2 separate regions of the Homo sapiens genome follow, and region 1 is linked to region 2. The links are contacts of gene promoters, found by promoter capture Hi-C in human tissues and cell types (Jung and others, 2019). All regions are on one chromosome and are shown on one strand. Each heading gives the region's core, a stretch centred on a gene start or on the middle of the fragment in contact. The rest is flanking DNA. Distances are from core to core; before and after follow the strand shown.

Evidence for each region. The method cuts DNA at HindIII sites, captures the fragments that hold promoters and counts their contacts. A contact is called where the count stands out against the background at its distance.
Region 1: a contact is called between the fragment with the promoter of MOCS1 here and the fragment with the promoter of NFYA in region 2, in 1 of the 25 tissues and cell types used here (hippocampus).

Annotation. Positions count from the first base shown.
Region 1 is chr6:39,930,699-39,937,671 of GRCh38, reverse strand. MOCS1 (molybdenum cofactor synthesis 1) reads left to right here and starts at 3,210. Exons shown (of 11, transcript NM_001358530.2): 1 at 3,210-3,377. The coding sequence starts at 3,255. It overlaps LOC102723789 (a long non-coding RNA gene), which reads right to left and starts at 3,103. Exons shown (of 6, transcript XR_001744112.1): 1 at 3,029-3,103. The HindIII fragment of the contact is 11,059 bases long and covers 1-6,973 here.
Region 2 is chr6:41,071,372-41,078,076 of GRCh38, reverse strand. NFYA (nuclear transcription factor Y subunit alpha) reads right to left here and starts at 5,103. Exons shown (of 10, transcript NM_002505.5): 1 at 4,993-5,103. OARD1 (O-acyl-ADP-ribose deacylase 1) reads left to right here and starts at 5,721. Exons shown (of 6, transcript NM_001329686.2): 1 at 5,721-5,841; 2 at 6,402-6,481. The coding sequence starts at 6,443. RefSeq lists silencers at 4,213-4,372, 4,403-5,032 and enhancers at 5,413-5,462, 5,493-5,702. The HindIII fragment of the contact is 6,789 bases long and covers 963-6,705 here.

The DNA.
Region 1 (6,973 bases), core at 1,961-4,460, 1.1 Mb after region 2:
TGTTACTGGACTAAGTGGGAGGTGGAATCATGGCGGAGAGGCCAGATGACACCAACTACAGCTGTAGCCAGAGCAAAACAGGGGAGATCAGGAAGAATAGATAATCCAGCTTTTCTCTCCTCCTGCTCTCTGATCTCCTGCCATGCTCCCTATTGGCAAGATCCACCTGGAAACCAGAGGTCAGGGCACCTGGATGATGCCATCAATGCAGTTGGTAGAAGTCAATCTCCTGGTCCTCAGAGCAGGGTGGAGAAGGATCTGGAGGGGCAAATAAAGACTATCCTGAACAAGGTCCTCAAAAGAGAAATGATAGGAATAATTGATACAATATTTTTTGAAACTTTATTGCTTCATTAAAATGCTTAAAATTGCAAGGAGAGTCCACAGTTACTGATAGAATGGGGATAGGTTTGAATGAATATTCAGATGACTGGACACTTGAGGTTCCTATTAGAAGAGACAATGGACATATGGCTGGAAATCACATCCTGGATCTTTTTTTGAGGGGGAGTTGGGAGATGAAAGTCAAGTGCGGAGAAAATGGGTAGGGAATAAGGAGAAACATATCTTCCTGTCAGCTGGAGAACAGATCACTAGAGATAAATTGTAAGGTGGGAATTGCATCATATTTTTCTGACCTAGTCTCAAAAGCCATGCAGTATCACTTTCACACTGTTACAAACAAGTTACAAACTGACCCAGATGCAAAGGAAGGAAAGTTAATTCCACCCCTTCTGGAGAAAGCAAAATTCTATCATAGGGCTGAATAATACAGTAGCCAGTAGCCACACATGGCTGTTTACACTTCAATTAATGACAATTTAATAAAATTAGAAATTCAATTCTCAGTCACACTAGCCACATTTCATGTGTTCAATAGCTATGTCAGGACATGGAATATCTCCATTATTGCAGAAGTTTCTATTGGACAACACAGCTCTAGAACATACGAGACAGGAAATATTGTTGCAGCCATCTTGCAAATACAGTCTGCCACCAGGACCTAGGCAAACCAAATTGTATTAGAGAAGATAGTGCAGTGGCTCACAAGACATTGTGTACAAGGGTTGGCAATAACTGCTGCTGTTTATCACTAAGAGAGTACTTGGGTTAAAGTCTCAAAGAGAGGATGTATATGCCTAGGGGGCTAAAACTAGGGCCAATAGGAGGGTATCACAAAAGAGAGATTTCTAGGACAGTATGTTCCATGAGGCTCTTTGAGCATGTGACAAAAAGCCACCATTCCCCAGGAAAAAAAAATACAGTATTATGCATTCAAGTTCAGGGGTCTACAGAACCCTCCAAATCAATCCATGGACTTGTCACATCAGAGCCCTACTGCAGGCTGTGAGCCCTTGAAAGTATTTCCTTATTCCCAGCCATTAGCAGAGGATTCGGCCCTGATGACACTTAATCACCATATGTTGACAGAAAGGGGCACTTTTTTGCTGAATACAAGTAAGAACTTTAATAGGTGGGGAAACATTTAAGTGGACCAGACAACATCAGGAAGCCAGAAAGTTTCCCAGCACTACAGGAGTCCAAGTAGATGTATGATAATATGGAGAGGATTTCAGCCTTCAAACAGAACTGAGTAAGCCTTAGGTCTTGCCTTGGAGACCCAAGTTCTATAAAAGATGACAGTAAAGCCCAAGTGAAGGGATGATCACATACAACTTGTATGAAGAGGGTGGAATCTAGAGAGGCTCCAAGGAGCTGGTGACATTCTTGGATCAAGTTCATATGTCAGATGGCTTCTTCCCTGAGGTTGAGTCCTCTCTAGAAGGCTCTTCAAGCCTCATACATACAAAAAAAAAAAAAGTTTTTATCCTTCTCTCCCCCATACCCAGTTTTCCTGATAAATCCAGACATATCTAAACTTAGCAGTGGACAGAGCTTGAACAGTCCTCAGTTGGTCTTCAGGCCCCTTGCAAACAGACCTCTGGCATACTTGTCTCATCAGTTTCAAACACACCCCAGATACACTTTCATCCCCTACAATATATTTTCTGAATTTTGAGTATCATTGTGAGAAATTCACATTGAATCTAAGGCTAAAATCATCTCAGCTTTTCTGACAGTCCCACTGCACTTGTAAAAGTCAGTTATATTCAGTTATTTTTTCCTCTCCCACTATTCGGTCAATTCTTCAAGATCAGGAGCTATATTCCCACTTCCTAAGCATGCACTTGGCAGCTGTATGTTCCAGCCGGTGTTTTATTCTTGCAATTCCACAGGGACAGGGTTTTGGATACAACAGGCTGGTTTGAGCATAATTATTCTTAGTACATAAGCTCATTATTGTGTGTGTTATCCAAAATCTTAAAGGACTACAGCACTCTGCTTTTTATAGAGAGGAAGAGGCACACCCCACCATTCCTAACACATACTGAATCTTGACTGAATGACTGTAGAAAGCAGATTGCCCTGGGTTTGAAACCCACTATCAGCTGTGTGACTTCGAGAAAATTACCTGGTCTCTCTAAGCCTCAATGTCCTCAGTTGCAAAAAGGACATTCTATTCATACCAGGATTGTTTTAAATAACATTTAGCATGGTGCTTGGTGTATAAGAAGCATTTCAAAAATGTTGTCCACTCATTCTGTGACTTCTCATATACTCTTGCCTTCTCCACGAAAAAAAAAAAAAAAAAAAAGATTGTTAATATCCTTTTGGGGCACAACTGGAGAAGTGTATCTTGAAAGACCTAACTGACCGTTTTACAACCACAATCTGCACTATGGTGCACTGAGTGATGTGAGTCATGCAAGTGTAGGCTAAATCTTTTTATTTAGAATGTTGATATTTCACGGACTTCTGAAAATTTATTACGATTTTTTGAAATATTACATTAAAAAATTACTTACTTTGATAACCGCAGTTTACCTGGCACCCTCTTAAATTTTGCATCCAAGGCAGTGCCTCATTCGTTTGGCCCTTGTCCTGTCCTGCCTACTGTCACACCACGACCTAAATCTGAGACTAGAGCAGCCAGAAAAACTGGAAGGAAAAGAACCCCGTTCCTTACCTGAGTTTACCCTTCTGCCCTAGAGCGCTACCCCGGCCCAGGAAAGTGGGCACAGGGAGCGTACTACAGCTCCCACAAGGCCACGCGGGACTGCGTCCTCGCCTATTGGCTGCGCGGGTCCCGCCCTCCCCCTGCCCCTCCCCGCCCTTGCTGGGATGACCCCGGGGGCGAGTGCCCGGCCAGTGTGCTCCCGAAGCGGGCTGCGGTTCCGCTCGTATCAGGCTTCATGGCGGCGCGGCCACTGTCCCGGATGCTGCGGCGGCTTCTGAGGTCCAGCGCCCGGAGCTGCAGCTCAGGGGCTCCGGTGACCCAGCCCTGCCCCGGGGAGTCCGCGCGAGCTGCCTCGGAGGTGAGCCCACCCCGCCTGCGTCCACAGCTTCCCGGGGCAGGAGTGGCCCCGGCACACTGCCCTTTTCCCCCAGTAGCTCCCGGCCTATCTGCTTGACCGCTTCTGGGAGGGACCCGTTGGCACTCCTCAGTGGAGCGATGTTCTCCAGATGGACCGCCCGGTCTCACCCGCTAGCCCAGCGGGAGAGGTTCCTGGGAGTCCCGCTTCAGAACCTCCCTGCCCCCCAGCCACGCCACCCCTTCTAGCCCTGAGCTTGGCCAGAAATTCGGGTAAGCAGAGGACTGGGACTTTGGGTCCAGTGAGGTGTCTTAGTACCTTTCAGCCTTGCCTTGCACCCACCCTCTTTCTTAAACATTTTCCCTCCCTATCCCAAGAGCTGAGAGATCAGGTGTCCCTGTGACACCTGCTTCATAGTGCGACTGACTAAACATGTCACCTCGGTGTCACCAACGATGAGTTGTTACTGTAGTCCCAGGGCTCTGTAACCCATCCTTTGCTGACTCTCCTTGTCTTTTTTATTAACCTTGGGAGGGTTCAGCCTTATCCTAGAGCAGAACAGGGCAGGACGTGGCTTCTTCCAGGTGAGAAATTAATTCCTCTGTCTTTAGGGTTTTGGGTAAGATCCCTCAGTCCTTGCCAGCACCCCTCAGAGTGTTTCAAGTCATTAAAAGTTTTAGGTTTTGGTTGTTCTTCTGCTCAGGTGGTTAGGGAATAATTTGGGGGGAAAAGTACCTCTTTTCATTTAGTGAAACCTCTTTTCGGTACCTATCTAGGCGTTTTTTTCCCCGTCTCCCAGAACTAGGCTTCCTGTCCTGGGATTCATAAGATCACTGCTCCCTCCTCCCCTATATTGCTCAATGACTTCCGCCAAATTTGCTTTCCCCAAATCTAAGCCCCTCTGGGATCCTCAGATAAGCAGGCCCATGGTTGGGAAGTGAAGACTTTTTAGTATCCTCAAACTCTGAACATCATTGAGGAAGAGATAGGAAAGCAAAGATGGCTGAGAGATCTTTAAAGAATTCAAGAAAAGGGACTTTTCTTCTCCAGCCCCCCACCCCCTAGTTTATTTTGTACTGGTCTTTCATGAGAGAACCTGTGTTGAGTGACTCACATGTGGAAGCATTTAGTCCTCACTAAGCCATGTGAGGTGAGTAGAGTTTGTATGTTCAGATGAGGGGGCTAATCTAAGTTAACTTTCCTCCAGTCGCAGAGCTGTAGAGGGCAGGAACTCAACTCTAATGCTTTTCCGTCCTCCCTGTGTGGAGGCCAGGGAGAGAGCCTGCTCCTATCCATCCCTTTACACTGTGAAGGGAGGGGTAATGTGGCAGAAAGGAGAACATAGACTCTGGGGCAGCCCCATCCCTTATTAGGGATTCACCAAGTCCCCTTACCTCTCAGTGTCTGTTTTCTCATCTGCAAAGTAAGAATAAAAGTGTCTACTTCATAGGATGTCACAGGGATTAAAAGAGTTAACGTATGTTAACGTATATACTTAGAACAAAGCTTAGCCCATGTAAGTGCTGTGTTATGTAAATGTTGGTGGTAATTACTATTATCCATGCTGCCACTGGCACATGCTCTGTCCTGTGAGTCCCCTCCCATCTGGACTTGTTGGATAGCTATTCTGTCAACTCACATTGAATCCTGGACATCTCATTAGGATTATCTTCAGCAGACTGGGAGTTCCTGAGGGCTGGGTGCACCTCCGCCTTTCTATCCCCACAAGCGCTTAACGCAGGGTTGTGCAGGCAGTGGATTCAGCCAATAATTGTAGCTGCTTGAAACTTAACTAGTGAGGAGTCACGTGGCATAGTAGACCACACTGGACAGGGAGTCCCATGTTTTCACCCGCCAGTTTCGCCTCCAATTTCACCTGGCTCCTGGGGCTGTCACTTCCCTTTGCTTCATGTTTATAAAATGAGAGGACTGGGCCAGCCCATCATAAGATGGGGGAGGGCACAGAAACTTGTCTTGAGGAGACTCTAAGGGGAGGTGAGTCTGGAAATGGATATGTTCTGCTCATCTCCAGAGCTTGCCAGTTGGGGTGGGGACACCTTGAACCCCTTCTTGCAGGGTCTGTCTCCCCCAACACGCCCACACAGGGCTCTGGTAGTCTGGTTTGGGATGGGAGGTGCTTGGAGAGCTAGGATGGAAAGCCACTGGGCATTGTTTGTGTGGCAGGATGAGGGTGTGAGGGAGAGAAGTGAGGTTAAGTGGGAGCTGGCTGTGAGGATTGCGGAAAGGGGGCTGTGGGCTGAGTCCAAGAACAGGTCGAGTAGCTTCTAGCTATGGAAAGGAGTAGTGTGTGGGTCAATGGGGAGGTGGGTGGGGGAGACACAGCAACCTGCCAGCCTGCATCTGGGGTGGCCCAGACAATCTTTGTAGGGTTCAGCCTAGCCTGGGAGTGCTGTATCCCTCTTTCTCCCTCTGAGGCTCCATGCAGGCTTTGTTGGGCAACAATGAAGCCTGCTGCCTGTGGCGGGGGAAGCAGGGAGGGTGAGTCTAGGCAAGGCAAAGGCACCCATCTGTTCAGGGGGCCAGAAAAAACAAATGCTGGCTAGGGGTTAGGCTGCAAGGAAGTGGGTGTGGGTGAAGGTAGAAGGAGTACAGCAGGCACTGGTGAGGGAGAATGAGGGGGAGGAGGGAAAGAGGGCTTTCAGGAGGTCATCTTGACTTCCAATCTGCCCAGCTCCTCAAAATCCATGTTTCAGCGAAATGTGACTGTCCTCCTCAGAAGCTATAGGTGTAAAGACCTCACACTTAGGGTGGGAATGAGGGGAGGGGGAAGGAGAATCGAGCTAGGCTAGGCTCTTTGTTGGGTCCTCTCATTTAAAAGAGATTAATTTTAAGAGACCCTTAGTATACATCATCCCAATAGCAGGGTAAATCAGGGCCACGATACTTAGATTTGGAATGTGCTTTTTTTCCTCTCGAATAACCCTGCTGCTCTGTTTAGACTTTGGAGCTATTTGAGGGCTAGCCTTTAGCAGTCAAATCAGATGCCTAAGATGAGTGACTAGTAGAGGAGGGCACCTTGAGGGCAGGGTCCCGCTTTAACTCTTTTGTCCCACCCTTCCCCACCCCCTTCACCCTAATCTGCATTGGGTAGACATGAGATGACCAGTAGTGTCTGGCAGGCTGCTTAGTGCCTGCTGATGCACACCAGTATTGGTGGTCCTGGGGATGCTCAGACCCCACTTGGGTGGTGTGGCAGCAGCTTTGAAACCCTGCCTCTGGCCATCTGCTGTTAGTAGGGTTGGAAGGCCAGGGTCTTGGAAGGGAAGGGAAGCTGACAAACTAGAAAAACTGATCACAGCACACAACAGTGTTCCTCCATGGATCACTGAATGAAAACCTCGGTGCCAGGAACTCCTCCAACTGAGTTAGGTTGGATTATTATTTCCACTGCATAGATGAGGAAACTAAGGTTTCGAGAATTTAGGTGACTTGCTCAACAGCTAGAGCCAGGCTTGTAATATAGGCTCACCTACTCCAAATCCTGTGCTCAGAACCACAACAACTTGCCCTGGATTAAAATAGCACCTGGCACTTGGTGTCACTAGGCCGATGGTTCTCAGCCCTGGCTGCACAGCTGA
Region 2 (6,705 bases), core at 3,854-6,353:
TACAGGTGTTTATTTTCAAATTCCTTTGATTTCACTGCACACTTGAAAATTCTTATTTCTAGAATAAGAATTTTGAGAAATTCTTATTTCCCAAATGAATGTTGGAATGTTAGGAAAAATATAACAAAATTTAATCAAAATAAAAATTAATCAACCCCATTACTCATAACCAAAATGGATACAACATAAGAATCTATGAGCCATAAATAACAGGCTATGTCATCACAGCAAGAGGACTTGTGGCCATATGGTTCTCCAAAGCACTGCCCTTGATCTAATGGAATGCTCGCTAGGTAAATTTCTAGCTATAATTTGGATTTACATATAGATTGGCCAACAGGGAGCAAATATAATCAGCAACATGACAAACCGGTTTTCTGATTTTTACACCAGTCTCTTTGGAATTGGTTGACTAAGTCTGCTCCTCAGAGATTCTGGGTATAGAATAGAAAATCAGGTTTTCAGCCAGACTGTGAGTCTGTTAGGGGCACTAACAGGCTTCCCTAAATTCTATCTTGTCTCTAATACACAATACATTTATGGCTATAAACTAATAAAATTAAGGTTATGATGTAAACGAATATATATGATTCCATTTATATAAAATCTCCAAAAGACATCAGTAATCTAGAGACAGAAAATGGATCAGTGGTTCCTTGGGAGTGGAGAATACAGGGAGACAGGAAAGAGGGAGGTTGACTGGCATGGAGCCTTAGGAACATTGTAGGGTGATGAAAATGTTTTATATCTTCATTGTGGTAGCAGTTGCACAGGTGTACAAATTTGTCAAAACTCATCAAAATACACATTTAAAATTATTATACTTTGTTTCTAAAGTATCTCTCAATAAATTGATTTTAAAAAATAAGGATCATGAAAGGAATGTCTTTTAGGTTTCAACGCCTCCCCAACTCCAAATTTCCTTCTTATATGAGATTTTTTCCTTGACTAATATCCAGAAGTTTACATCTTTACAAGACTAAATATAACTTGAAGCACATAATGACTAATATATGTAACGTACAGATTTTCTTCTTAACTAGTTTATTCTGGTAATACAAATGAACCAATTTAGCAATATTTAAATTTATACTTTGAAGAGTATCAAGATTTGAAGAGCAGCTTCAAATCTAGCAGCAATTCTCTCTCACATTAATGACAGAGTGATTTAGCCTGTATCATGATATTGATACTGTTAATGGTTAATGCTATAAGCAACTGGCTTCAGTAAAGTCATATGTTCCTACTACTGTGAGCTTCAGTTAGCAAGACTGCAATACAATTCGATAGTCTTTCCCAAAGTGCCTCTTTGCCCAAGATTATGACAAACTAAGCCAGATTTAGTCTGTCTAGCTCTTGCTCTTAACACAAAGTTTTGAATGGTTTTTCCTCAAAGAGAGAGAAACAAATAATAAGTGTTTATTCTGGCTAGCATGAAAATTCTCTTCCTAGTGCATTCTCTTCTCAGTGCAATTCTCTTTGCCCCACTATTCCAAGGTGCAAAAGCTGAGACTTAGCCAACCACTTACTAGGAACCCATTCTATGTGGACCTACACAAACTCCAAAGCTAAAACCTCTTCAGAAACTCAACTAGTGTAAGCATATGAAAAGCCATAGGATTATCACAGTTGATAATCACTACCAGGCAAAGCCTAGAACAGTAGCTTTTTAACTTTTTTGACCACAACCCTTAGTAAGAAACACATTTCATTATCACAACTCAGTGCACACATGTATAAAGCATGTAACTGAAATGAAAGTTTCATGAAACAGCATTTACCTTTATACAACACAAGATGCACTTTGGTATTTTCTATTCTTTTTTTTCTTTTAAGAGAGGGGGTCTCCCTATGCTACCCAGGCTGGTCTCAAACTCCTGAGCTCAAAGGATTCTCCCACTTCGGCTTCCCAAAGTGCTGGGATTACAGTCGTGAGCCATCATCATGCCTGGCAGATATTTTCTATTCTATTATTTAAAAATTCCCAGCATTGGCTCACTCAATTTCTTTCACAACTCAACAAGTGGGTCCTGATAGACGCTTGATGAAAGACTAGACTACAACAAAGGGCTGTCCAGCTTCCCCATCATCCTACAGATTTCTGGATTGGAGCTTTCTAATGCACTTCTCTCCACTAATTATGTACCATGTGCCAGACACTGTTCTGAAGGTTTTAAAAATAAAAAGAAATCTCTGACGAAGATTCAAACTTCAAAGAGTCTTTAAGTTTAGTAATGGACTAAAAACCTATACTGGAATCCTAAGAGATAAAGTGATATGGGAATTTGGAGGACAGAGATTTGTTCCAGCTGGGGATAAATCAACAAGGCTTAAAAAAAAAAAGGTACTACTTGAACTTTTTTTTTCTTTGCTATCAGAGGCCTGCAGGATGAACTGGTCTTAAGTGTGAGAAAGATTTAGCTATGTGATGATGTGGAGGAAGGTGAAGTACTACAAATCAAGAGAGCATAAAAACAAGAACAGAAATATTTCAGCATGTGAACAGTGGACTAAACAGGAAAAAAAGCTTGGGGCCACACTACTTTCTCTCAAAATGTCAGACAAAGAAATTCTTCTGCAGACTGGTGGAAGCTTGTAAGGTATTTAGCAAAAAAGTTACCAGATTATAATGCCTTTTAGAAAGATGCCAAGCAAAAGTATTTAGTGATTTTGAAGTGACCAGAACATACCTATTTTTAAATACTAAGGTTAAAACATCTATTTCAGGTCAGGACGCAGTGGCTCATGCCTGTAATCCCAACGTTTTGGGAGAACAAGAAGGGAGGATGGCTTGAGCCCAGGAGTTCCAGGTTAGTGAGCTACGATTGCGCCACTGTACTCCAGCCTGGATGACAGAGGAAAGCCCTGTATCCAAAAACAAACAAAAAAACGTTCCAAAGGCAAATATACATGTTTTTTAGACTACTTAAGCTCTATCATCTCATCTGCTAATGCGGATAACGTGACAATCAAATGAATTAAGAAAATCACTTAAGCAACAATGAAAAACTCACCCTAAAAAGTGAAAATAAAACCTGTCCCCGAAGTTTTAGTAATGAAAGAGCACTGGAATACGAGTTTTCTGAAACCTATTAGTTGTATAACATTAAATGTGAATTTAGAAATGGGCACCAGATACTTAAGACCTTTATGTGCCAGGGAATGCACTAGATGATTCACATGAGTAAAAATAATTTTCAGAGTCCTAGGACAAGTCTCCTCTTCATCCCCAAAGAACTCAGCCACTATCACGGGGCAGAACCCATAAACAAGTCAGAAACTCGTTTTTTCAATCTTAGGAAAAAATATAGCTCTAGATCCCTTCTACTTGAACCTCCATACAAAATAATAACTGTTTCCAAAATATTCCTTAGCAAGATATACAAGTATTTTACCAACTGGGCTTTCCCCCCTAAACTATCACAACTACTGCCCACTTCCCTATCCCATCTTCCTGCCTCCAACAGTGTAATTTGATTCCTCTGCACATGCTTTTCTTCTCTTCGAGCAAGCTCTTCCATCTTTCCTGTGGAAGAATTACCATCATTCTTCAAGGCCAGTCAAAAGTGCGGTGGTGATAAGCCTTTCACGGAGGCTAGCTCACGCATGGATACTTCACAGCAACTGAACTTGGCCCCTTTATAGCACTAACCGTTAGGTATTAACTACCTGTTCACCTGTCAATTTCCATCAGGTAGGCACAGTTCTTATTGACCTCTACGTACTCCCTCCCTAACACACGGATTATACCTGGCATATACTAACTGCTGGATAATTGGTTGCCAACAGCAACCTCTCACCCTAAGGAAAACCCCACAACACTGTTAGTTTCTAAACATCTGCTGAGAAAACGTTAACACAGGACTTGAAAGTGTATCAGAAAAACATAAACCAAGAGATGAGTGGACTGGGTCAAGCCTGACACAAAGTAACATAGAAAGGCGAAGGCAAAAACAAAGGGAAAAAAAACCCCCAAAACTGTACTATATTCCCAAGGGAGGGAGATTTCACAAAATGAGCAGTGGATAAGATTAGTAATATGAACAGCAAGTTGTGCAGCCTCCGGAAAGAATGCGCAAGGGTATCAATCTTCTAAGAGTGAGGTTCCAGGCACCGAATGGACTGGTCTTACAGCCCGGACAAGAAACGGAGACCGCTTGGTTGGGCTCCAAGACGGAGGTGTGCGGTCCTGCCACTGCGAACGGGGCGGGGAAGAGAGGAAATGACGAGCCAAAAGGGGTGGTAACGGCGCCGGGCCGGAGACCCGGGCGGAGCGGGCTGGGAGGAGGGGCGCGGCGGAGCAGGGGGAGTGGGCGAACTAACGGCCCCCTCTCCCCACCAGGGAGACAGCGGGGGCGGGCCCATAGGGCTCCGAGGCGTGGGCGGGCCAGCCCCGTTGCCAGCCGCACACGGGACCCCGCGGCCGCGGCGCGCACCCTCCCCAGGCCTCCCTCCCGACCTAGAGGGGCTGCAGATAAGACAGACCCGGCTCGCTGGGAGCGGGGAGCGGGGGGCGCGGGCCCCGGGGAGGCTTCCTGTCCCAAGGGCCGGAGAGTGGAGAGTGCAAGGGCAGGTTTAAGTTTGCGGCCAGAACGACCAGGAGGAAATCGCCGAGGCCCAGGGCGCGCATGTGTCCCCTAGTGTAGGGCCATTCGTGGCCCCAGGCCTGGGGCCTGAGAACCTGGGCCTGAGTCGGGGAACAGGGACGCATTCCCAACTGGCCCTGGCACCCTGCGAGGGTCGGAGCCCCGAGGTGCCTGCTCCCCGAGGCGCCATCCCCGCGCGGGGCGGCCCCTGCAGGCCTCGGCCGGGAGTGCCCCGAGGCGCTCGCAGGCCCCGGGCCGGGGCCGCTGGCCGCCCGGCTCGGCTAGGCTCAGCTCGACTCCCCGGGCTCGACGGGCGCCTGGGCCTCTCCTGAGTGGTCAGCGAGACCCGCCAATCGGGGCGCTGGGGCCGGCTCTGGGCCGCTGGATATTGGCTCCTCACACTCACCGTGCCTCGCTCCCCCGGTTCGCTGCCCGCGCTGATTGGCTCCAGTACCGGACTCCGAAACCCAATCAGAGGCTCCAGCCGCCGCTGCCGCCGCCACTGCCGCTGCCTAGCAAAATGGCGAACCCGAACAAAGGGGAATCGGGCCTCCCTCCAACCGCCTCCGCGCAGGCGCCTCTGAGGCCACGCCCACTAACTCCAGTTCAGGGATCGCCCCACCCCTTCGGAGGAGCAACGCGCAGGCGTTCCCTGAAGCCACGCCCACCTTCCCGCTTTGACACCACCCCCAGTGAAAGGAATACGCAGGCGCTTTCCAGACGCGCCAGACCCTTCAACTCAAAACGCTGCCTTGAGCTTAGTACTACGCAGGCGCTAACTAGCCCCTTTGCCAGCTGCCCACCCCTTTCCAAGTGGCCACTAGGACACACCCCTGCGGCTAATGCGCAAGCGCCACTTTTCCCGACTCGTGGGGCAGTTTCGTTACGCATGCGCGGGCGGCGGCGGGAAACCACGGAATTTACTGCCGGAAGTTCGGCGGCCTTCGCCAAAGAGTGTGGGCTCGGCTAGCAAGCTAGAGGGGCTCGTTTCCGCCCCGCTACCGGGCGGGGGCGGCCATCTTAGATGCGTGCAATTAAGGGCTTTGGCGGGATTGGCTCCGCGTTTGGGCTGGTCCGCTGCTCCCCACCTACCAGGGTCGGATCCGGAGCCCTTCCCCGCGGGGCGGGGACCTCCAAACAACCGACTCCTTTCCAGGTGAAGGGTGACTTGGGTACGTTGGGGCTTTGAGCGAGCCTCCCCGCACCCTCCCATAGGACCCCAGGACAGACTGCGTCCTCGCTGACCCGCCCTAGGGTAGGAGACAGAGAATGGGAGGCTTCAATAGACTCTTTCCTTCTCCCACGCACCCCCCAAAAAAGTGGGGGGTGAACGTTCCTTGAGAGGCCGCCTTCCTTTCCCCACGCCTGGGGCTCAGCACGCCAGTACCCTGTACACTCTGTGGTTGCGGCTTAACGGGACTGTGGCCAAGTCCCTTCTGTTTTCTTCTAAGCCAGACCCACTGGGGAAATACTTTTGCGTCGTGCAGAGAAAAGGAGACCGTCCTAAATCGGCCTTGCTCCGGAGTGGCCCTGGAGAAAGGAGGAGGCGTGTCTTAGGGATGGGCTTTGCTTCCGCTGACGGAGCGGGGCGCTCCAGGAAAGCACGAAATGAGAGCGGGTCGAGACAGCCTCCGAACCTAAGCGTTCTTCCTCTTTGCCCCAGAAGGGTTTTGTATTACGTCCCAGGGGCCGAACAAACTCACATTCATCGATAAACGTTGGGGAAAAAAGCCTATTAAGTGGTTGTACAGGGCAATCAGAATATTATATACTAAGGCTGCCTAAGCATTTTTACTTCCTTTTCCCTTCTCATAGCTGAAGAAACACTTAAATTCTGGAAATAGCGACTCAGTATCATGGCCAGCAGCCTTAATGAAGATCCAGAAGGAAGCAGAGTGCGTAACAACTATTGACTTATTGGTGAACTGAAATTCGTAATAATGGAGGTCAAAAGCATAAACACTTTTTAATTAAATTAATGATTGCATTATCTTTTTTTCTCTCTAGCTGATTTACTTTAAAAAGGCTCAAAATTCTAGGCAGGGATCATCCATTACTTTCCTTTTACACATGCTGTAATTGGTTTGGCTTTAAATCAGATTGGAGGAAGGGGTGCCGG